Linked DNA regions of Homo sapiens: all the other regions are linked to region 6. Evidence: promoter capture Hi-C in 16 types of primary human blood cells and fetal thymus (Javierre and others, 2016). All regions are on one chromosome and are shown on one strand. Each heading gives the region's core, a stretch centred on a gene start or on the middle of the fragment in contact. The rest is flanking DNA. Distances are from core to core; before and after follow the strand shown.

Evidence for each region. The method cuts DNA at HindIII sites, captures the fragments that hold promoters and counts their contacts. A CHiCAGO score of 5 or more calls a contact.
Region 1: a fragment that was not itself captured here is called in contact with the fragment with the promoter of GAD1 in region 6 in 3 of 17 cell types (naive CD8 T cells, fetal thymus and megakaryocytes); the score reaches 7.0 in naive CD8 T cells.
Region 2: a fragment that was not itself captured here is called in contact with the fragment with the promoter of GAD1 in region 6 in 6 of 17 cell types (non-activated CD4 T cells, naive CD4 T cells, fetal thymus and 3 more); the score reaches 7.8 in non-activated CD4 T cells.
Region 3: a fragment that was not itself captured here is called in contact with the fragment with the promoter of GAD1 in region 6 in 12 of 17 cell types (naive CD4 T cells, total CD4 T cells, total CD8 T cells and 9 more); the score reaches 15.3 in naive CD4 T cells.
Region 4: a contact is called between a fragment that was not itself captured here and the fragment with the promoter of GAD1 in region 6, in 9 of 17 cell types (fetal thymus, total CD4 T cells, megakaryocytes and 6 more). The highest score is 14.1, in fetal thymus.
Region 5: a fragment that was not itself captured here is called in contact with the fragment with the promoter of GAD1 in region 6 in 6 of 17 cell types (naive CD4 T cells, non-activated CD4 T cells, total CD8 T cells and 3 more); the score reaches 7.4 in naive CD4 T cells.
Region 7: a fragment that was not itself captured here is called in contact with the fragment with the promoter of GAD1 in region 6 in 14 of 17 cell types (total CD4 T cells, naive CD4 T cells, total CD8 T cells and 11 more); the score reaches 37.8 in total CD4 T cells.

Annotation. Positions count from the first base shown.
Region 1 is chr2:170,311,931-170,315,141 of GRCh38, reverse strand. All of the region lies in intron 7 of MYO3B (myosin IIIB), which reads right to left. Among named protein-coding and RNA genes, the nearest start is that of MYO3B-AS1, 37 kb to the left of the region's middle. The HindIII fragment of the contact is 3,561 bases long and covers 1-3,211 here.
Region 2 is chr2:170,449,524-170,452,786 of GRCh38, reverse strand. The region is part of intron 23 of MYO3B (myosin IIIB); the gene reads right to left. Among named protein-coding and RNA genes, the nearest start is that of MYO3B-AS1, 100 kb to the right of the region's middle. The HindIII fragment of the contact is 1,653 bases long and covers 989-2,641 here.
Region 3 is chr2:170,426,992-170,430,163 of GRCh38, reverse strand. The region is part of intron 22 of MYO3B (myosin IIIB); the gene reads right to left. Among named protein-coding and RNA genes, the nearest start is that of MYO3B-AS1, 78 kb to the right of the region's middle. The HindIII fragment of the contact is 1,151 bases long and covers 751-1,901 here.
Region 4 is chr2:170,333,163-170,336,126 of GRCh38, reverse strand. MYO3B (myosin IIIB) reads right to left here. Exons shown (of 35, transcript NM_138995.5): 8 at 677-742. LOC124906090 (a long non-coding RNA gene) reads left to right here. Exons shown (of 4, transcript XR_007087292.1): 3 at 1,248-1,381; 4 at 1,996-2,199. Among named protein-coding and RNA genes, the nearest start is that of MYO3B-AS1, 16 kb to the left of the region's middle. The HindIII fragment of the contact is 8,589 bases long and covers 1-2,964 here.
Region 5 is chr2:170,501,429-170,504,511 of GRCh38, reverse strand. MYO3B (myosin IIIB) reads right to left here. Exons shown (of 35, transcript NM_138995.5): 28 at 2,647-2,727. Among named protein-coding and RNA genes, the nearest start is that of MYO3B-AS1, 150 kb to the right of the region's middle. The HindIII fragment of the contact is 5,344 bases long and covers 1-3,083 here.
Region 6 is chr2:170,815,046-170,818,272 of GRCh38, reverse strand. GAD1 (glutamate decarboxylase 1) reads right to left here and starts at 1,386. Exons shown (of 17, transcript NM_000817.3): 1 at 1,225-1,386. GAD1-AS1 (GAD1 antisense RNA 1) reads left to right here. Exons shown (of 4, transcript NR_197761.1): 2 at 358-555; 3 at 1,241-1,419; 4 at 1,788-3,227. RefSeq lists an enhancer at 1,235-1,404 and a silencer at 1,492-1,571. The HindIII fragment of the contact is 11,655 bases long and covers 1-3,227 here.
Region 7 is chr2:170,408,654-170,411,642 of GRCh38, reverse strand. All of the region lies in intron 22 of MYO3B (myosin IIIB), which reads right to left. Among named protein-coding and RNA genes, the nearest start is that of MYO3B-AS1, 59 kb to the right of the region's middle. The HindIII fragment of the contact is 1,380 bases long and covers 743-2,122 here.

The DNA.
Region 1 (3,211 bases), core at 514-3,013, 500 kb after region 6:
AAAGAAATAGGGAATTGTGTGCTGATTTGTGAGAATCATAAACCAACAGAATAAAACATTAAGAACAACAGGATGCCTGTAATTTGAAGCAAAACTTGATAGTCCTAAAAATGTCAATTGGGTCCGTAATCACCCAGTACAAAGTCCATACACTTAATGAGCTCCTGCCAAGAATGACTGTTGCCAAATGAAATACGTGGATACTGATGGACCAGTCTTGAGTAGCATAGTGGGCACAAAACTGAGTAATGCTGAGTAAGAAATACAACATTGAGTAATACAGCTGTAGCGTAGTCTTCTATGTATTCTAATTCTAGAGATTCACTCCCAGCACCAGCACAAGATGCTTTTCTTCCAACACTTCCCATTCTAGAAGGACTTTCCATCTCTGCCAACTAACCCAAATCTTATTGTTTCATTAGGACTTGCCTCTCCCCATAGCCATCACAAAACATTTAGTTTAAAATACATAGTTCTTTATTTGATCATTCATTCATTCAATACAGTTTAATTGAATTTCCCACCAATAATATAAAAAACTGCTGAAAGCTGATTAGATGTATTTTTGTATATACTACCCCTTTCTTAGTGATGTTTTCTGTCCACAACAATTAAAGATCTAATGAAAGGTGATAAGATGAGAGCACAACCAAGGGAATTCAGAGGAGGGACAGAATGCTTTCAGTGGGATGAGCCAGCACATGGCACCCTAGTATGGCTGCAAGAGATGTTACTAGGCAGGGGTTACAGTGGGTAGCAAATCACACACACTTCATTGAGATGAATGCAGCTTGGACATTTCCTACAGAATCTAGCTCTTTTCTGTGAATTCATGCAAACTGTTGGTTGAACATATACATGAATTAATGAAACGGAGCCTATTTTGCCCTCATACAGGAAAATAGGCAAAATAGGCAAAGAAGGACCTGGCTCAAGGTCCTTCTGGGGAGAGGTGCTTGGCAGAATTTGGCCACAGTATCAATTCTAAACTGCACACTAAATAAACATAATAAAAGATGTGCGCCAGGAATAGAAGGCCAGCAGGATGTTACTTTTCTGAAAATGGCATTGGCAGGGGGGCTGTAGGGAGGGAGCACAGTCCCCTTCTTTCCCCCTCTTACTTGTCAGCCTTGTGGTTCACGAAAACCCAATTGGACCCTTGTTTTCTTTCCTGGGCCAGTAATGAATGGCAGTAATTATCCATGCAGGGCTGTGTGTGAGTCATGAGGTAGCTCTGGCTCCCTTCTCCTTGCAATTTTGAGCTGTGTGTGTGTGTCTGTGTGTGTGTTTCACCCGCTACTATTGAGGGGTGGAAAATAGATTACAATTACATTCCGGCTGGCTTTTGAAGACTTGATGGACAGCTGGAGAGAAATCTTGCCTGCAGCTGCTGGGATGAGAGGGTGGCCAAGAGGTGGGCGTGGAAAGAGGAAGAGAGGCCCTGTCAGAAGAGGGGGAAACAATACTAAATGAATTCAGGATATTCTCAAAGGAGCATTTTGAAGAGATCATGCTTGCTGACATTAAAACTGATTCTAGGGTCCAGGTGGCTGGCTGCATATCTGAATAATGTAGGTCCCTTTCAGGAACATTTTGAGTGTTCAAGTGCAGAGATGCTATCACTGGATCAGAGAGCAGCAAGATTAGACATAGACCAAGGCTGGCCCTGAAGATGGGCTCAGCTGTAGGTTTTTCCCTCTCTTCATCTGGAATCATTTTTCTAAGGTTAACCCCAACCCCTAACCTTTATTTATTTATTTTTTTTAGTATGTATATGGGGAGCTTTCATGTACTTACTGAGCACTATGTTTGGCACTTGGCCATACATGTTATCTACATGCCTCACATAATCCATATTACTCCCCTTCAAGGGAAAGGTCATAACCCTTATTTTACAGAGGGGGAAAACGAAGTTGAGAAAGGTGAAATAACTATCTCAAGGATGTTAAGTATTAAGGTGAACAACCCAGGCAGGCCAACTTCAAAGTGCCAAACAGTGCAATATTTTATTTCTTATTACAGTCAAAAAAATCACAAATTTAGAAAGCAGGAATGCCAATTACTGGGAGTAGAAGAAGGGGCAATGCTAATGCATTTATTACATTTGTCTAAAACAGATACCCAGTTGTCTAGGTCCTTCAATTCCATAATGGTTAAGAAAATAAAACACCATGATTATATCACAAATGAAATATAAATAGTTCCTCTATGTGTAACTTAGAAACATTTGCAGGTATGTAGGTGAAAATCAGCACTCCATAGAAGGCACCAAGAAACTCATCAGCTTTAAGTGTAACCAGAATTCAAACAATAATTGTAGGGAAACATGCCCCCAAAATTGTACGTAGGTGTGATTTCCCTGGATACCAAACGGAAGTGATTTCAACTGGCCTCTAACCCTCAGTGAATGTGGTTAGAACAGTGGTCTGCAGAGCTACCAAGCAAAATAATCAGAAAAGTGTCCCTTATCCTTAGCTAATTGCAAAATAAACATTTCTATTCCTTCCCACCAGCCTTCCACGCAGGATTCACTTTGATGGCATTTGCCTCTTGGTTCAGATCAAACTTAGATCACAATTTAAGAACTGGTTTATTAACACCACCAGCAAGTCCTTTGTCAATGGGGTCAGAACCCTTGCCTAGGCAATGACATGACATCTACTCACATTTAGTCAGGGATTTCTTTGTTCAGCAATACACTAAATAGGCACAGTCATCCCCTACTAAAAGCCAGGAGCTGTACTAAATATTAGGGGAGCCATTCTCACACTCAGTGCTCATAGATAAGTAAATGGACCATTAAGTAAACGCTGTCTGGATGAGTCAGAGAAGGATGCTCATGTCACATTTCAGCTCCCTTCTATCAATTTACCCTGTCCCAGACCAGTCTTAAAGTAGTCATATCATGAAATCACAACAAACCTGAACTGTAGTCTAGACACATTTGTGACTGTGAGAAAAGATGAAACCTTGAAGAAACGTGCATCTTAGGACACTTGGTTCTGTGAGTGGTAGAAGAGGTTGTGCAAAGAAATAAGACATAGTCAGGAGCAAATAAAAAGTTACCCCGTGCGAAAAGCAATATTGAAAAATAAGAAAAGAGCACTCACACTTTCTTATTTCAACACCTACTACAAAGCAACAGCAATCAAAGTAGTGTGATTACCGGCATAAGAAGCGACGTACAGATCAATGGGATAGAATGGAGGGT
Region 2 (3,263 bases), core at 566-3,065, 370 kb after region 6:
ATTTTTTATTTCTCTCAATTATCTTTGGGTAGATTCTAAATCTTGTAAATAAAGAAACTGTTTACTGTCTCTTTGAGACACTTTATGCATCCATGGTTAAGTTATAACCTTAGTTAAAACTTATTAATTTCACTGGGAGCTTACCTGTGGTAGAATTCAAAGGCCAAAAATATTGGCTTTCCTGGCTGGAGTCTGGAATAAGAGATTTTAAAAGTTTTTTTAAAAAACAAAAGAGCTCTACTGTTAAAATCAGCTTAATTAAAATGGATATCCAAGCTATACATACTTAAAAGGCCTTTATCTTTTTCCTCTTCTTGAATCATATTTTTCTGAAAAAGGCTTTTCTTCTCAGTTGACGGAATTATTTTTCTCCATTTTGTCTTTTTGTTGCTCTTGATGCCCACATGAGAGAACCTAAGAATTTCAAAAGCCTGGACTCCTGGGGAAAAACAGAGGTGGCACCACAGACCCCATTCTGGAAAAAACCTGTTTTCCTCATGGAACCCCAGGAATTGAAAGTGAATAGATCTCTCTCAAAATCTAAGGCTTTGTTTGGTTTTACGTTATGTTACCTGAACCTTTTTTTTTTTACTTTTGGGGGTATCAGAAATTACTTTGCATTATGGGAAAGCCTTTAGCCTTGGTGTATAGCAACTTTAAGGGATATTGGCTGTTATGGAGGGATACTTGGCTCTTTGCATGCTTGGATTAGAGAAGCATGCTTGGCCATCTGGAAGGTGTGCAAACATCCCCACCTTCCACTGAGAGATGAGACTCCCATGTAGATGGGCTGATTACAAAATGGGCCGATTGGCTTTGGGTTGCCTTGCAATAAAATGCACAGTAAAAGCGTTGTACTGTCTTCTTCCATAGTGTTTTCCTCTTTTTGGGGATCCAGGATGTGATATAAAAATGGGACCCTTAATTTTGGGGATCTGTTTTTGCCTTCCAGCTGTGCCTGCTTATTAGGCCCTGAAAACTGCAAGCTTTCCTCACCCTATTCCTCCAAGGGCTCCACCCTGAAGCCAGTAATCCAACTATTGACAAATGAAAATCTTGACAACTACTGGATCTTCTTTTCTGTGTATATTCATGTCTGTTTGTGTGATGTTTATATATGAAAGTGCTCTGAACAATTGGGGGTAAAAATAAGGGCTTAAATCAAATATTTTGTTAGAAAAATAGAAACTTTAAGTTTTTGTTCATGTGACTTTAGTAATCTTTCGGAAATAAAGACAATTTTAAAGATTACTGGTAAAATAAAAATGTCTTCAAAATTTAGACATTTGGTCAAAACATTTGGTCTAAATTAGGTCAGATATTAGGTTTGTTAAAATGCTTTAAGGTAATAAACTGCTTCTTTGACTTTTGAAAACTGTTTGACTTACCTACTTTGGAGTCATTAGGTTCTAGATAAGGCCTAGGGACATGTGGCGTAAGCCATGCCGCCTACCTGTACTAGGAAGAATCAAACCTTATTTGTACTTCTGTCTGGTGTCCTAGGCTCCACAGCTAGTATATATTAAAATCATTTACTTATCAGGCTTTTCACCAAAAATGAAAGATGCAAAAAGTTAATAGTGTAACATGTACTTGAGTCCACTGGAAAAAGAGTTTTACATGCAAGGTTGCAAGGTATAGAAGGAAAGTAGAATGTGGTTTTGGTGGGAAATTATAAGAAGGCATGGGAATATGGTTTTTGTTAAAGGGAATGTAATTTTGTCTAGTTAAGAGGGTTTTAAAGAATGTCTTAAACTAAAAGAGTAAAGGGACAAAATTGAAGGTTTAAGCAAGTTAGAAAGGTTTGTGAAGGGTTGATCTGATAAAGGAAGTTCTGTGAGAAGCAGCAAGTTGGCTAAGAGTTGAAGGGAATTGTTTAGTATTTTTCTATAGCTCAAACATTAAAATAAAAGCACACTGATGTGGAGCCAGAATCTGGGCCCATGTGTCTGAATAGCAGGGTTTTCTTTTAAAAAAATTGATCTGTTTAACAGAAAATTGTAAAGAGTTATAAGAAGTTTATGAAAATCTTACCTTATGGTCAAACTAATTAAAACTGCATAAATTTATAAAATTTTATTAAAAACTAGCTTTAGCATTAAAGATGCCCTAAAGCAAACATGAAACTTAGTTTTCTCTTTTGAAAAAGATTTTTATGTAATATTAGAGACAATGAAAACAAATCTTGTTTGCCTTTTGAGTAAACTACAAAAAAAAAAGGGAGGGGAGAGAGAAGAGACAGATTCAGCTGGCCTCATGCTGTCTTCATAGGATCTTGTTGTCTAGAAAGCTGAGTCTCCTCTCTATCAGAGTACAGGTCTTTTCCTTTTTAAAATTTCTGGGTTATCATTTTGGCTAAATGAATGACTTACGGTGACCTGGGATTCTATTTAGTGATATCCAGTGTTGTAAACCTTTGATATGTGACAAACTTTCCAAAATTAAATTATAAAGTATGTCTTTTTCTGACCTAATTAATCTTTTAGATATTAGGTCCCCTAAAGTGCAAAAATGATGTATTTGCTTTCTTATATAAAAATCACACAGGAAACACTGTCAAATATGAAATGATGTTTGGCTTTCTTTGGACTGTATTTTTATAAATATGTTATTTGTATGTGTTCCAAAATTATAGGAAGCTTCTATAATTCTGATATAATTTAATGTATATTAAGCCTTTTAATTATTATGTAAAATTGTTGTGTGCCACAGAAGTAACCAAAATTCCTAGTCAGTTGTAGCTTTAATAGTGGCTGTCCTAAGACTTTTGTCATCCACAGACAGTTGTCTTGTTTTGATCCTTTTCAGAAGGCAGTTTATAATCAGATATAGGGCTCTGATGGGTTCTCTTGAATGCAGGTCTCTGATAATGTAGAAATTGTGTTATTGGAATAGAGGAAACAAAACAAACTTCTAGGACTTATGGAGAGCTGATGTGATAAACATTGCGAATCCTTTTGTTTTTCAGAGTCAAGAAAACTTCTTCTTTTTCTTTTCTTTTTTTTTTTTGAGACAGAGTTCTGCTCTTGTCACCCAGGCTGGAGTGCAACGGCGCGATCTCAGCTCACCGCAGCCTCTGCCTCCTGGGTTCAAGCAATTCTCCTGCCTCAGCCTCCCGAGTAGCTAGGATTACAGGCATGTACCACCACGCCCAGCTAATTTTGTATTTTTAGTAGAGATGGAGTTTCTTCATGTTGGTCAGGCTGGTCTCAAGCTCCTGACCTCAGGTGATCCGCCCACCTCAGCCTCCCAAAGTGCTGGGA
Region 3 (3,172 bases), core at 77-2,576, 390 kb after region 6:
GGATTCATTCTAGTACCCCCTAGTATACCAAAACCTACGCACTCAGCCCTGAAGAACCCACATATATGAAAAGTTGGCCCTCCATATATGCAGTTTTGCATCCAACCAATATTGTATTTTTTATCTGCATTTGTTTGAAAAAAAAAAAAAAAACCTGTGTATAAGTGGACCTGCACAGTTCAAACCAACATTGTTCAAGAGCCAACTATACAGTTCTTTGTTTTAAGGAGAAGACAGCCCAGAGAAGCTCTTGGGGGGAAGGGGAAAGGCTGACATATAAACAATTCATTGCGATTGAAACTGGTGAGTGTTAGAATAAATCTCTGAATAAAGTGACACAAGGGGACAGAATACTAAGTTTTCATGAGAGGATGAGGAAAACAAAAACTGAAGAGTAGTCAATGAATGAGCTAGATTGTGAAAGCTTAACATGAGTTTGACAGGAAATGGAAGGTATTCTATCTGAAAGACATGCGCAAGACAGATACAGAATGTAAACCTGAGGGTTCCAGAGAGTTCCAGAGAGCTTGTAAGACAAATTTCTAGGAGGCTTCTTATTTTAAAATTAGACATTTAATAATAGCATTAAAACATTTATTATTTTACCCTTGCAAACATAAAAACAAGTTACTCACCACTCCCTTCCAGTGAAAATACCACCTGTGGGGACAGTTTTAGGGGGAAGAAAATATGGGGAAGAAGGCTTTGCTAAGGTATCATAAGTCACTGGTGGGACTGGGAACAAAAGCTTGTTCTGCTCTTCAGGTGGCCTTCAGGTAGAATGCCCATTCATCTGTGTGGCCAAAGGTGGATGGTTTGGATACGAGCTACTAGGAGACTCATTCCAGTTAAAATAGTGCTGATATGGCCAAAGTCTTAAGTAAAATCTCATATGGGTCAGGTAGTTTCATACAGAGAAGTTACATTCCACAGTCTAAGAATAGAATCCTAAATAAAATGCTCAGGCAGGAGCAAATCAACTGATCACTGCAAATTAAAAAATCCCTCCCTAGAAGATTTGCACAACATACCTTATCTATTGGTGGTAGGTCAGTCATATAATTTCCCGCAACACCTATGCTTCCTTGTGTTTTTAAGCCTGAGAAAGTTACACAGGGCTTCAGCAAACAAGACGCTGTTAGCTTCCCATTGTGCAGGATTATGATTCAGTGCTTGGAACTATAACTGCTTTTTTGAGTTTCCCTCTTTAGCATGGAAGCAATGAAAAGGACACTGGAAAGTGAGAAACTTGGATTCCTATCCCACACCTGCCACTGACTTAAGGAGATCATGTCTACTCTTTATGACTCATTTGTATTATATGTCAAATGAGGAGTTTGAGAAGATCAGTGGTTCTGCACTTGTGTGTCATGGCATTCCGTCATGGTGTCCATAATGAACACCCTTTGTGGCTATGTAGCTTCACCTAGATCAATGCCAGGCATGTGGTGTAGATGGGGGTGGACTGTTCTCTGAAATGGAACTACAACGAACAGTGTGTAATGTCAACCTGGTGCCAAAATAAAATATTGTGTGATATCTGTGGCCAGGACATGTGTGAGCTTTACCTAAGCTATAAATCAGAGAGCTAATCAAGGAAGTAAACAGTATTGTTCAAAAATCAACAACACGCTGAACAACAAGGAAACACGTAAGTGCAATAACTAGATGCAAGTTGGAGTAAAAAAAGTTAAGTATTGTTAGGCTTCCATCCAGCTCTGAAATTTTATCTATAGTTGTGAAATATCTCCTAAAAGACCCCTGAAGTGGGGGAAATAAGAAAGAACAAAATAAAGACAATAAAACTAAAATCTGCAAAATGTATTATTTCTTAGCAGTTCAGTAGGCAACAGAAGAAGTGGGTGGTGATGATAGCCTCGCTTAGATAAATGGAGGAAGCTTAGATAGTGGTTTTACAGAGGCCTGGATATTTAATTTGCCAATGTTCTCTTCACAGCTAACACAGGCAACCAGCAATGGCTCTGTTGCTATGATCTCTTCAGTTATTCCTCCTCCTTTACTTTGCTATTGTGGCTAAGGTAAGCTTATTCAGTTCTCTAATTTTTTAATATCATTCTTGTTTCTTAGCACGTGAGAGGAGACAGAGGCATAGTTTTTTGCTCCCTTTCTGCAATGTTTTTAAGATTAATGAATTCAAGGTGTTCATTTTTCAACATCTTTATAACATCTATTCTCCTAGTAAAACATTATGCTTCTGTTTGCATATTGGCAAGTACCAGCCATTTTGAAAAACTGGGTGCTAATGTGAAGGCAATAATCACTTATACGAGCTTTTTTTTCCTATTGGGTCTCTGAAAGTACTCAAGGGTAGCTTTTGATATATAGGTATCCAAGTCTAATTTTCACATTTACCAGTTATTTTTGTTATATTTTAAAGAATGACTATTCCATGTCACTAGCTCTTTTATAAAAGAACCTAGTATAAACATCCATGTATATGTATATATCCTTGGGAAAAACTATAGCAACTTAAGAATCCAGAAAATAAGGAGAGGCATACTGAAATAGGTAGTATTCCACAGGAAACCAAACTTGCATGTGCCCAATTGGCCAGCATTACTCATATCTAAACTACATTGTTATAATGTTTCTGAACACCCATGCACACACATTTCTTATAGATATATGTATAACCCGTTCATAAAACGCCAGTGCCCAGAAACACTTCTTCCATTGAAATTTATATGTTTCATGGTGTTAAAGAATGAAGTTAATGTAACTTACATTCTTAAGCACAGGCATTGATTTTTGGAGACCTTGGCTTTATGGAACTGTAATGCTGTATTATCCAAACTAACTGATTTCAAAAAGACTTTCTAAATTAAAGTATTATCTGACAGACTTGCGATGCAATTACTGATTTTTTTTTGAAAGAGTGAAACCTATTGAGAATAAAGGCCAACAAAGATTATTTATCTGATGAAGGAACTCTACAAGCATCACAACTCTACACTAATTCTAGAGGTTGCAGGTAGTCAGTACAATTGTGTCTGAGTCCTTTAAACTCAATGCAAATATGCTATCTTATATTAGTATTAATCTTTAGAAATGATTTGGCTCCTTATAGATGTTACAACCTCTTTGAAGCCAGGTACTAAGTATCTATTTCTTTTCTTTTTTTTTTTGAGACTGAGTCTCGCACTATCACCCA
Region 4 (2,964 bases), core at 18-2,517, 480 kb after region 6:
TTCTCAGACTTAGGACCAGTGTGGTCCAAAAGCCCATGACCCCAGCACTGAGCCACTATTGGTTTCACTGTTGATTCTGCTCCTGTCTGAGTCCCAGCAATACTTGCCTAGTGACATAGCTCCTACCAGGTATGTCACACCATCATCTTGGCCTTCATTTTGTTCCTCATACCTTGAGCCTTGGCTGGGATACCTTACCTTGGTACCCCAAGCCTGAGATTCTACTTTGTCCCTCTATCATCTTGGAAACTGGACCCTTGTTCCCATGCCACAGATCCTAGAGGAAGCCCAACTTTCACACTGCAAAAACTCTGTTGGAGGCTGCTACCTTCTGTCTTCTCTTTGGTCCTAATGTAGGCATCAGATTTTTAGATGTTTCATCTCTCCCCATTAAACATGACAAGTTGTCAATATTTGCCCTAAGACAAAGTAGGTTCTCAGATAAATGTGACCCATATGATAAGAAGGACTTATTATAACTGAGAGTCAAATGGAACGCCTTACTTTTCACATCTTGCAAAGGCATCTTCTATCATTTACTAGAACAAACCCCGAGTCATAACGTGCTAACAGGCATAACAACCTCTAGTGTCAAGTAAATTCCACAGCCTGGATTTCTCCAATCACTGCTCAAGGCCTTGCTAGATGGGCAATTTTTAGTGGAAGAAATACTCACTGTGAAATAAAGTGGTTGAATTCTTCACACCATTTTTCTGGATGAAGTAAAGTAGGTGGAGGATTTCTGAAAAAATAACAGCAATTTTTTCTTAAGAAAGAAGAATTTCATTAAAGGCAAAATATCAACTTGTTTTTATTGATATCATTCTAAATAGCTCTAATAAAATCTGTTTGTTCTCATATGAGAGTCATTTTTTAGTGGTAGATTATAAAGTGCCAACCCTTATTCCTGTAGTCATTCATTTTCATTGACTGAAGACCTACTATGTCCCTGGCCTTCTCAGGACCTGTGAAAGTTACAAAGATCAGGAACATTCTTCAAGAAGCAGACACCCTAATGAGGGGTGAGGCAAGCACACAAACTACTATAACAGAGCTGAGGATTATTAGTGCTATAAGAAAGCTCTAAACATAGTGCTAGGGGCTTTAGTGAAATAGACGTTTAATTGTACAGGATTTTCAGATCATTATGGTACCATTTGGATTAATTATGTGATGCATTTAAAGTGTACTCATAAATTCATAGTCACATTTTTAACTATCTCCTATGTATCAACTTCTGCAATAAGCACTGGAGAAAGTCAGACAGTCAAAACAATGTCCCAGACTCCGTGAAGTTCCTGGGTAGAGAAGGAGACAGACATATACCATACCTAATAATTGGATGTCCGAGAGAATGAGAGAATGGCAGAAAGAACTTTAGGTAAGCAGACAACCTCTTGGTGAGAGGGCAAAAAAAAAGAGGGGTGGGGATGGGGTAAGAGCCCTGATTTGCTTGAATACCACGAAGAGATCTGATTTCAAAACAGAAGTGACTATATTACCTTTAATTGATGAGACTTTTTTCTAGCAATACATGGAAATAAGGGCTTGTCGGCAACTCAAGTTCAGAAAATGAAGAAAGTGACAGTTCTGCACACATGAATTATGGCTGTAAATTTTAAAGCCATCATATGTGATCCTTGATTTTACCTTGATTCTAACTGCTTCCTAAAGCCATGGATTGCTCAGATTCAATAGGCAGAGGAATGGGAAGCAGCAAGAATTACCAGAAATAAATATACATCAGATAATGTGATCGCAATTTGCCCCTCGATATCCATTATCTTCTCATTTCTTATAGTACAATTTTTATTTCAGCATACTGCTGCCGTAATAAAGATTACAATTTCTTGAGTTCCTTACGGCTAGATGTGGTTCTGTGATCAAGTTCTAGTCAATGATATATAAATAGAAGTATTATATGGTATTTCCAGAAAGTCTCCTTAAAAGAGGGGAGACATGCCATTCTTCTCCTTCCCCCTTCTTTCTTTTTAGAGCATGGGTATGATGGCTAGAGCTTGAGCAGCCATTGTGGACATCAGATGAACTTGAAAGTGAAAACTATGAGCTGAATACGACAAAGCAAACAGATAGAAAACTGGATTCATTATGACATTGCAAAGCTGCCAGACCAGCTCTAGTCTGCTTCCCCCTAATCTTCCTTACTAAGAGAGAGAAATAAACTTCCATCTTCTTCAAGCCACTGGTACATGCAGCTGAGTCTAATCCTCAGTCAGATAACCTTTCCGAGTATTTTCCTACCATATGATTAGAACATAATATGGTAAGTGATATACTAGAAGCACAAGCACCATATGTGGGTAGAATAATTAAGATGCTGCTTACTCAATCTAGGGAGTCTCAAAAGACTTTATAGAAGATAAACTTGAGCTGGCTTCTGAAAATTAGATTGGATTTTTCAAGATAGAGAAGGAGAGTGAAGCCATTTTAGGCTCAGAAAACAATACGTACCAAGACACAAGGATGTAAAAAAGCATAGTATGTCCAAAAAACCTAATTTGTTGAGGCTAGACTATATATGATCTTTTGGATCTGAAGAGAGAGCAGGGGGGAAGGATAAGATGAGAAGGAAGAATGATTAGAGGAAGGAGATGATTTATCTGTTCTGCATACGAATTTAGTTACCCTTCATATCTTATAATTCAAAAACCTATAAATTATCTGTGTATTACCCAGAAAGAATAGCAGTTAAATTTTTTTCCCCCTTCTGCTGGATCAGAGACAAAGGAGGAGGCTGCCTCTTTATCTCATTCACTCCATTCAACAACATATGCCTTCATCTTTCCCTAGTACCACCATCACATAAGTTCAGCTTCAGTCCTAGTTTGACTGAGCAGTTCTTACTGCCTGTGGCTATCTGAGGTTTTACATGCCCTGCCAGCTCACCTCTGTGGGCAGCTTTGGTGCTATATCTTTCAGTGAGTCCGTTATCCTAGATCATCT
Region 5 (3,083 bases), core at 363-2,862, 310 kb after region 6:
GTAATAGATCGGGAATTCTGAAAGGAAGTTCTGAGGAAGCTAAAGGGATAAGCCGCACGGCTGCTTTTATTGGGAAGGAGATGAAAGGAAAACAAATTTCAATATGTGCTGCCCTGTAGCAACATGTAGGCCAAATGCTTCCTAAATTTCAAGGGCCGCTCTTTTAAAAATATATAACATATCTTAGCAACACCACTTAAGAAAATACTATGGGCCAGAACTAGAAATACAAATGCATTCCACAGAATCTAAATTTCAAATGAAATGATTTGTTGAAAAAATAATAAATTAGAGAATAACCTTAGAAAACAACCGGAAATGGTTGTGCTGTGACAACATCCCTAAGCCACTTCCTGCAGGCTCCTAAAGCGGGGAGCCACTGTATCTGGGTCTGGTTCTACTAGGAAATGTCCTAGTGGGACGAAGAGAGGCTTGTAATGAGATTATGTTTGGGGAAGATCACAACCCCAAACAGAAACGTCGGAATGAGTTGCTTTGCTTCTTAGATAAACGCAATTATGCCTTCAAATCTAAAGATAAGGAAAATATTCCCAAGTAAAAGTAAACTGCCCATAAAATTGCAAAGATTGCTACCCTATTCATGCATCTTTACCACCAACACAAAACCAGCGCACCAATTCCTGTCCACGGTGTTGGCTAAAGGGCAGATGCTGTCTGCCTTTGCTCTGGCTGCCACACTACTTCTAAGAGGGCAGAGGTGGTGTTGGTGCCACCTTCATGCCCATCTAAGCCCCTGCAGACTCAGTTAATGGAAGTTCCCAACATCACTTGATAGGCAAGAACACTTTGGCTGCAAGGCTAAGAAAGGGGAGGTGCTTGCAAGGCTAAAAAAAAAAAAGGACGGCACCCTTAAAGAAATGTGTTTTCTAAAGTCCTGCTGGGTGCTTGCAAGGCTAAAAAAAAGGAAGGCACCTTAATGTGTTTTCTAAAGTCCTGCTGGGTGCTTGCAAGGCTAAAAAAAAGGAAGGCACCTTAATGTGTTTTCTAAAGTCCTGCTGGGTGCTTGCAAGGCTAAAAAAAAAAAAAAAAAAGGGAGACACCCTTAAAGAAACATGCTTTTTAAAGTTTCGCTGAGCAACATTATCCTTCCATGGTAGCTACCCCATAGGTGCTCCACTGAAAAGATACAATTATTACTATCCTGATCCATGATGATGAAGCAGACCCATTTCTGTTTTACAGCAGTATTCACTTGGCATTAACAGAGTGCAAGACAGGGAGCACTCAAAAGATGACTTTCACTTAGGGAAAATTGGATTTATGATTCCTGTATACTGAACTCAGTGGATCAACAATAAATAAGCTCAAGCAAGTTTAAATTTTAAAACACATGTTGGCCTTTGTACCAAACTGCAAGATCAGAAATCAGTTTGGTACCCTGTTTTAATGAGAGATTGTGTGCGTGTTGGGAGGCAGGCAAGTAGGGAACAAATGATGCACTTTGAGTTCTCTCTTAAGCTGTAACAAGAATTGCATCCCTCTTCCTGGGGCTTTGAAGTTGTAGAGCTTAGAATTCCTAGGAGATGGTGTTAAAAGTTAACATTTGCATTTTAATAGCACTCTTTCCGCCCAACTATTTTCGTTTTGAATGAAGACATCAGGCTTCTACAGTGGTCTAAGAGTTCTGAGAAGTTTACTTGGAGCCAGGTTCCGAGGAGGGACTTCTTTCAAGAGGTTGCAGCTGTTTTATTTAAGAGTTTCCTTCAAGCTCAGCTGTATGTGAAATCCTATCACTCTCTCTGCTGCTGAGTCTACCAGCCTGGCTATTTCTCTCATTCTGTCTCTAATTTCTTGTGGCTCCTGGAGCTCAGGGGCCTGTTTCTTCCAGAGCCTCGAGTAGGAATATGCAGCTTCAAATGAGGGAAGGAGCCCAGCCTGGCACCCGCACCCACAGTGGACACTGCCATTTGCAGAAGAGCAGAGTGACTGAAGAGCCAGAGAGGGGACGGATGAGTCAGAAACCAGAGCTTACACCTCTCAGGCTGCCAATAGCAAGCCGAGCCATAAAAGCCACCATGTGCTCATGCCATGGGGCCCAGAGGACCATGATAGCCACATATAAGCCTGGATTTGGGAAACAGTTTGCTGGGAAACTCCCTGAGTGATTCCTCCTCTGTGATGCTAAGAAACAGGTCTTGCATATAATTAGAGAATTCCAAAATGGGAAGGCACCTTCTGGACCTTTTTAACCAGCGCTCTCATTTAACAGACGAGGGACATATGACTCCGAGAGGGAAAGGGTTTTGTTCAGGTGGCAGTATGCGATGCTGACTCTATCCAAACGGCCTGTGTTCAAATGCTGGCTCTGCAACTGATGAACTGTGTGATGGTGGACAAGTCCCTTCACTTCTCAGTGCCTCAGTTTCCTCCTCTATAATATCAGGTATACAAGAGAACCCAGTCAGAGCATCCTTAGCCAAGTGTGGCAAACAGCAAATGCTCATGCTCACCGTTAGCATCATAGTTATCACACAAGGAGGGTCAGAACACTAGGACTCCTGTCTCCCAGAACTCTTGACTCATTCCAGTGCTCCTGAATTATTAACCTTTCAGCTTTTCTACATTCACAGAAGTTAGTCACAGAATATTTTCAAGTGGACACTGTGAAAATGATGTTTTAATTACCTGCTTGATTATGAGCAGCAGACTCATTCCTTCTGTTGCTTATTTTCTTAAATTTCCTCCGAGCATCATATCCTCTCCAGGCTAAAAATATAAAACCATGTGCTAGGAATGACATTAATTTAAGAACGTGCCAGAGAATTGATATAAGCTGTTTTCCCCTCCAGCCTATTGCCCGTCTCATCCTCCCTCCTGCTTTCTCACTGAACAAAATAAGCAGAGGTATGTGATCTATGGCGAGAAGAGAGGCCTCTCTGTTCTCACAGCTTGGCTTTAAAGATGCTTCTGAGGGGTTGCTTTTGTTCAGGCAGTGATTTCCAGAACACTCTGGGTTCCACTGATGAATCACATGGGACCCCTACTCCAGGTGAGATGGTTTCCTGTCATTCTAATCCCTGGAGAAAGCCCTGTCTTCAAGACTCGGGGATATGATACAGGTG
Region 6 (3,227 bases), core at 137-2,636:
ACCTGGAGTGAAGCGCCGAGACGAGGCGGGGTCGGGGTCGGGGTGGGGGTCCAAGGCCAGTACAAGACGCAAGGGTGTGGGGGACTAGGCTAGGAGCACAGGGGAGCGCTCAGTGAGCGATTTTCCAGCCGAGCCGCTACAAGCCCCATTGGGCACTCAGCAGCCGGCGTGTGGGCCAGCGGGGGGAGGGCGCACGGGGCGGGCATGTCTGGTTCGGTGTCTGGTTCCCGTTGTTGTGTCTGGCTAATTCCCTGGAAAGAAAGAGGCTAACTGCTCCGGGGACTAGGGACTTTGGTGAGACAAGGTGAGAGGGGGAAAAAGGCCCATATCTTTACGTTCTCCCTCGGACTTGGCCAGAGAAGAACCACAGTCACCTTGCACTCCAGACAGCCAGAAAGCAGCGAGTCGGAATGTTGCTTGCCTCCCTCTTATCCCAGCCGGTTTTTAGCCATCGCTAAGCCTAGGGCGAGGTTTCGGTCCGGTTTCAGCGTTTCTCCTCTACCTAGCCCCCTGAGGACCCCAGATTTCTCGCGGTACAGATCCAGAGAGGGTGGGGTAAGTAAGCATGGGGAACGTCACCGGGGAAACGAACTTGCGCGCAGCGCGCAGGAGGCGGCGGACAAAGATCTTGCGCGGCGCCCCTGCTCGACTCTCGGCGCTGGCGCGATGGCGCCCGAAGGCCCCGGGACAGAGAGATTGCGGGCTAATCTGGGTAGATCGAGGACCCCACAGAGAAGGGCCCACCGGCCATCGCCTCCACACCCTCCCTCCGACCTCACTCCTAGCCCCGCGCGCGCAGTCGCACAGCAACTCGGGCAGCGGGTCGACTACGGCCCCTGGAAAAGTAACAGGTTACCGTTCCTAGTAGCGCCTTCGGCTGCTGCTGCCCAGGCGCCCTTTGGAGGGACAGGCGCTCGCAGCATGGAAGCTCAAGGGAAAATCGCTCTTGCCCCACTTCAACTAGAGCCTCAGCCTCCGTGCTTCCCCGGGGCGTGAATCCGGAGGGCAGGGATAAGAAGAGTGACGAGGGAGGCGGGGGGGGGGGGGTCCCTGCGCAGCGCACCCGTGGAGAGCAGGGACTAGGGCGGGCAGGAAGCACTCATTTCGGGAGGTTGGGTGGCCGGCGCTGGGATGGGGTTGGTTGAGAAGCCGCGGGAGGAGAGGACCTGGCTGAAAAGCCACGGTTGGGCGCTGGGAAGTCCAGGTGGTCGCTAGCTTACCCACCTCGGCTCTGCGACAGCGAGCCGGGCACTCCCGCCTTTCCTCTGCACAGCGCCCAGCGATCCGCTCGGCTCGGCCCTGACAGGCGTAATCTGCCCGGCGTCACCTCCAGCTGCTTCCTCGTTCTCGCTAGTTCCCTCTCGCACGCGAGCGCCAGGAGAAGAGAGAGATTCGGAGAGGCGGCTGCACGGCTCCGGGGTAGGCGGGGGCAGAGTGGGGAGGCGGGGACCGGATCGGCGGGGAAATCACGAGGCCGTTGCTCGCGGGGGCAGCTAGTCGGCGGAGCGGCGGGGCTCCTCTGCAGGTGCCTGACCGCCTCTGGAGCTTTATAGGGCGATTATAAATCCAGCTCACGGTTTTGCGCCCGGAAGGAAAAAAAAAAGGTCTTATGAGTAATCCAGAACGTACTCAACACGCTTTTTTTTTTTCCTTTGGAAATAGGCAGGCTGTCGGGTGAGAGGAGGGAAAAGATAATTCCTACGAAGAATTCTGCCTTTCTGAGCGTTTCTTCTTCCCTCCCCTCCTTTCCCCTCTCCCATTTCCCCTCCCCCTCCCATATATTGTAGGAGACGAGCGGCGGTTTTGCCTCAGTGCTTTTCCCCGGGGTTCCCCCAGATCTGTGACCCTGCGACGCTTCCTTGAGCGAAAGCGCGCTTTGGGTCGTGTCCTCGTTGGCTCTCTACGGAGCTGGGATTGTTGTAACCGCAAAGGAGGCAGAAATGAGGGGAGACCTCTTAGACCATGGAGGAATTACAGTTTCCTCATCCAGCCCTGGGCCCCATCAAAGTACCACACCTGGCCACAGCTACCCAGTGCCACCGGCAGAGAAAAGGACCCCGCGTCCCTTTTGCTATGCGCTCGCTCCTCGCTTTGGCCCCCTTGGTGATGGGAAAAGAAGGCCTCCTGATTAATCACGTTTGAAGGTTGATGACACGCACGAGCGCCGCTGCACGCGCATGGGGCACCCGAGCACAGAGGTGCCCGGAAGGGGCGGACCAGCCCCCCTTGCCCTGGCCCGCTCCCCCTTCGATTTCACGCGCTTTAAGGATTCTCCCTTTGCAATATTTAGGCGTAGTTAAAAGAACCGCTGCGTTGGGAGAAGCCCCTCGCCGTAAAAATGCGTTGAAAGAGAAATTCCCACCAGAGGGCGCCAAGAGCCCAGAGACGGAGAGGCCCTGCGCTCCCGGGTCTCTCCGCCAGCGCCCGAGCGGAGCCCACACCTGGAGCTGCTGGCCAGACGGTTACGCGCCGGCTTGCCTCTTCATGCCTTCCCTCACCGCCCTGTCACTAGTTTAAGTTCTCCCCTTTCTTCTCCCCCAGTTTTTTTCTTTAGGGCAAAAATGTTGATGTCTGTGCGTGTCTGGGTGACACCGTGTAGGCAGTGATTCCTTTACTGGTATTTACCGTGGTCCTCCCCCTCTCCCCAGGTGGTGCAGCACGCAGGGGTTATTTATGCGCACGTCTGGGGCCTCACTGGTTCAGCGGAGGCCCGTCCGTTTTCTTTGAATGCCTTATCGCCTTTCACCACAACACAATGGAAACACACACAAAAATATTATAAATTACCGAGAGTTCCATAAGGGAGATCGAAGGGTCCGCCCTGGGCAGACATGGCCTGATCAGCAAGAGGGATCTCGCTGTGGGGTTTGAAATAATCGCGTTGCCTTTGGTACTAAAGAAACTACTGTTTTGTCGCCTTGTCTCCACCTGACGATGAAATCCCCGGCACTTTTTAAGGACACAAAAAACATCCTAAACGGCGGGGCGCGCGGTGACTGCAGCCCCGGGCACTGAGGCTTGGGGCTGGACAGGCTGGGGGTGTCTGCTCCACGTAGGAAACGTCCCCCCAAACCACTCAACCGGCAGCTGCTCTGCGCTGCTTGAAGTGGGCGGCATACAACCAGGTGAAGCTCGGAATTCCATCCACCGGCCCTCCTAGAGCCTTCCCTAAACGAGACGCTCGCACCAATCAGGGAGCCAGGTGCCAGTGCTAAATCATTCAAGAC
Region 7 (2,989 bases), core at 183-2,682, 410 kb after region 6:
ATATACACACCGAGGTTGATCCTCTCAACCTTGATAAGAAATTAAATCAAGCCCCAGTAGTGTCATGCGCCATGTACATTTTGGTCAACAATGGACTGCATATAAACTGGTGGTCCTGTAACATTATCATACCATAGTTGTACTGTACCTTTTCTATGTTTAGATATGTTTAGATACACAAATACTTGGCATTGTCTTACAATTAACTACAACATTCAGTATAGTAACATACTGTACAGGTTTACAGCCCGAGAACAGTAGACTACAACATATAGCCTAGATGTATAGTAGATTATATCATTTAGGTTTGTGTAAGAACTCTATGATGTTTGTACAACGATGAAATCAACTAACGATGCATTTCTCAGAATGCATCCCCATCATTAAGCTATGCATGACTATACTTTTTTTGATATATACTAATGAAGGGAATGTTACCTGCCCAGCAACCCAGAGAGGAGGTAACTTGAAAGAACAGGAAAGTGATCCTGGGGCTGTTTTGAAAGCAAAGGACAGTGGCAATCTAGCTACCAGAAAACCTCAAGTTAACTGTCAGGAATCCTTCGATAAAGAAATTAAAGTTTTTCTTTGCATTTAAACAATTTTAATTCTAATTTTTTTTCAGAGATGGGGGGTGTCACTGTGTTGCCCAGACCGGCCTTGAACTCCTGGGCTCAAGTGATTCTCCTGCCTCAGCCTCCTGAGTAGCTGGGACTCTAGCCATGCGCTACCACATCAAGCTTTTTTTTTCTCTTTGTATTTTAAGGGGTCTTCTCTATCTTTTGGAGAAAAAAACCCAACATTACTATGACACAGAATGCACACACAAAAAAGTATGCAAAACATAAATGTACAGCATAATAAATATAATGCAAGCATACATGTAACCACCACCAAGATCAGGAGCCAGACCACTGCCAACATCTCTTAGGGGTCTTCCTAACAAACGTCTTCTCCTCTTTCAAAATTGAGGAGTCCAGCACTGGACCTCCTTTTATGCTTTGAGCTAATTGCCTCTAAGGTTTCCCAAGTTTTTTTTTTTTTTTTTTTCTTTTTTTTTGTTGAGACGGAGTCTTGCACTGTTCCCAGGCTGGAGTGCAATGGCATGGTCTTGGCTCACCGCAACCTCCACCTCCTGGGTTCAAGCAATTCTCCTGCTCCAGACTCCCTAGTAGCTGGGATTACAGGTGCCCGCCACCACACCCGGCTAATTTTTTGTATTTTTAGTAGAGACGGGGTTTCACTATGTTGGCCAGGCTGGTCTCGAACTCCTGACCTCGTGATCCACCCACCTTGTGATCCGCCTGCCTCGGCCTCCCAAAGTGCTGGGATTACAGGCGTGAGCCACCGCGCCTGGCCTCAACTTTGATCTTTTTCCTTCCTCCCTGTAGTTCATTCCTCAAAAGAGGTTTGTAAAGTAATTGACCATAATATATATGCTTACTGAACTAGTGCTCCATTTAATTTCGATAAAACAATTAAAGCAAGGAAAAATAAAAGTGACAAGAAAATGGTTTCTTATGCATTGAAAATATTAGCATATTCTTTTCCAAAGTGCCAGGATAGTGTGGGATCTTGCTTCTAGTGGGAACATCAAGATGTATAGGCACCTTCCCCTTCACGAGAGGGACATGCCTGAAACAAGCATTGGCAAAGAACAGCATAACTTATTTCTGTCCAGTGAGGTTTCCCATCTTCAAAGGCTGTAACATAATAACCCCCAAAAATATAGACTATGAACGTTTTAAAATTTAGAAAAGTAATATTCTGACATTCAACACAGGATGCACAATCATGTTAGAATCGAGGTTTGAGGGCAACTATTGTCATAAGGAGATAAATTAGTGCCCAATTCTGTATAGAAAATTCCATATAGAAAATGAAGTTAAAAGAAAGTTCTAGTTGGTGTACGGCAAAGCCGTATTACCTTTACTCCTATATTTCCCTCGTTGCCTAAAAAGTACCTTATTACTAGAAGCTGTTCTTTAAATGTTTGTTGATTGAATTCATTCCTACATAAATAATTCCAGAAAAAGAAAACACAATCATGCTTATAAGTTTTGATGTTTGTGGCTTCTTAACTATACTCAAAATGTGGAGAATCCTAAGCTATACTCAAGCTTAGGATCTCAAAGGAAATTACTATGCATAATATATAGCTCAGGAATACTGGGAAGCCTATTGGTACATCACGTTTGTGTCTAGTCTTATTTTTCACTTTTGTTTCTATCAAGTGGTGTGGAGTGTAGTTTCAAAACAAGATTCAGAAACAAGAGGAAAGCTCTTTGGGAGGGGTAAAAAAGACGCAGCGGCGGAGGTTATCTCTTTGTTCCTGTTCCTCCCGCAGTTGGGTGAATCAAGGGAGAACAGAGACCGGCTGCAGGGCCTTACTTTCTGCATAGCGCCCCCTAGTGGTCCAGGCTGTTAAATGGTTTTTATTTTGCCAAAGGTTGAAAAATCGGAAATTCCGAAGTTGTGAACAGATTTGACAAGTCGTTATTAATATTTGTGGGAGGATGTAAATGCCAGCTGAAGAGTTATTTGGATAGATTTTTTTCCCAGAGAGCATGTCCCCTATCAATAATGGCTGTCTCTTCACCTCTGTGCTGAAGTCGCCTGATGAGGAGTCTACATCCCTGGGTCTCTGGTAAGGAAACACCAGATAGCCCTTTCCACACCTGCCCCGAGCTCCTGGGATTCCATATTGAATTAAACCCCGGCTGCTCCAAGGAAGGTCTGGAATGGAAGCTGGAGGGCAGCCTTCTGATGGGCACTGCTACTAGTTCTGTTTACAGGAGCATGTCTGAAAAAAGAGCCGGATTTCAACTTTCCTTCCAAGTTAAGATGAAGCAAAGGCTGTAGACTGTGGCTTTTTTTTTTTTCTTAGCCAGGCTTTTCATTCCTCTGCAAGCTGCTAAAAATCAGACCTGGCAGCCAGTTAAGAGGGATGTGGGAAGAAAAGAAGAGGAAATAGTGAACAATGAACAGT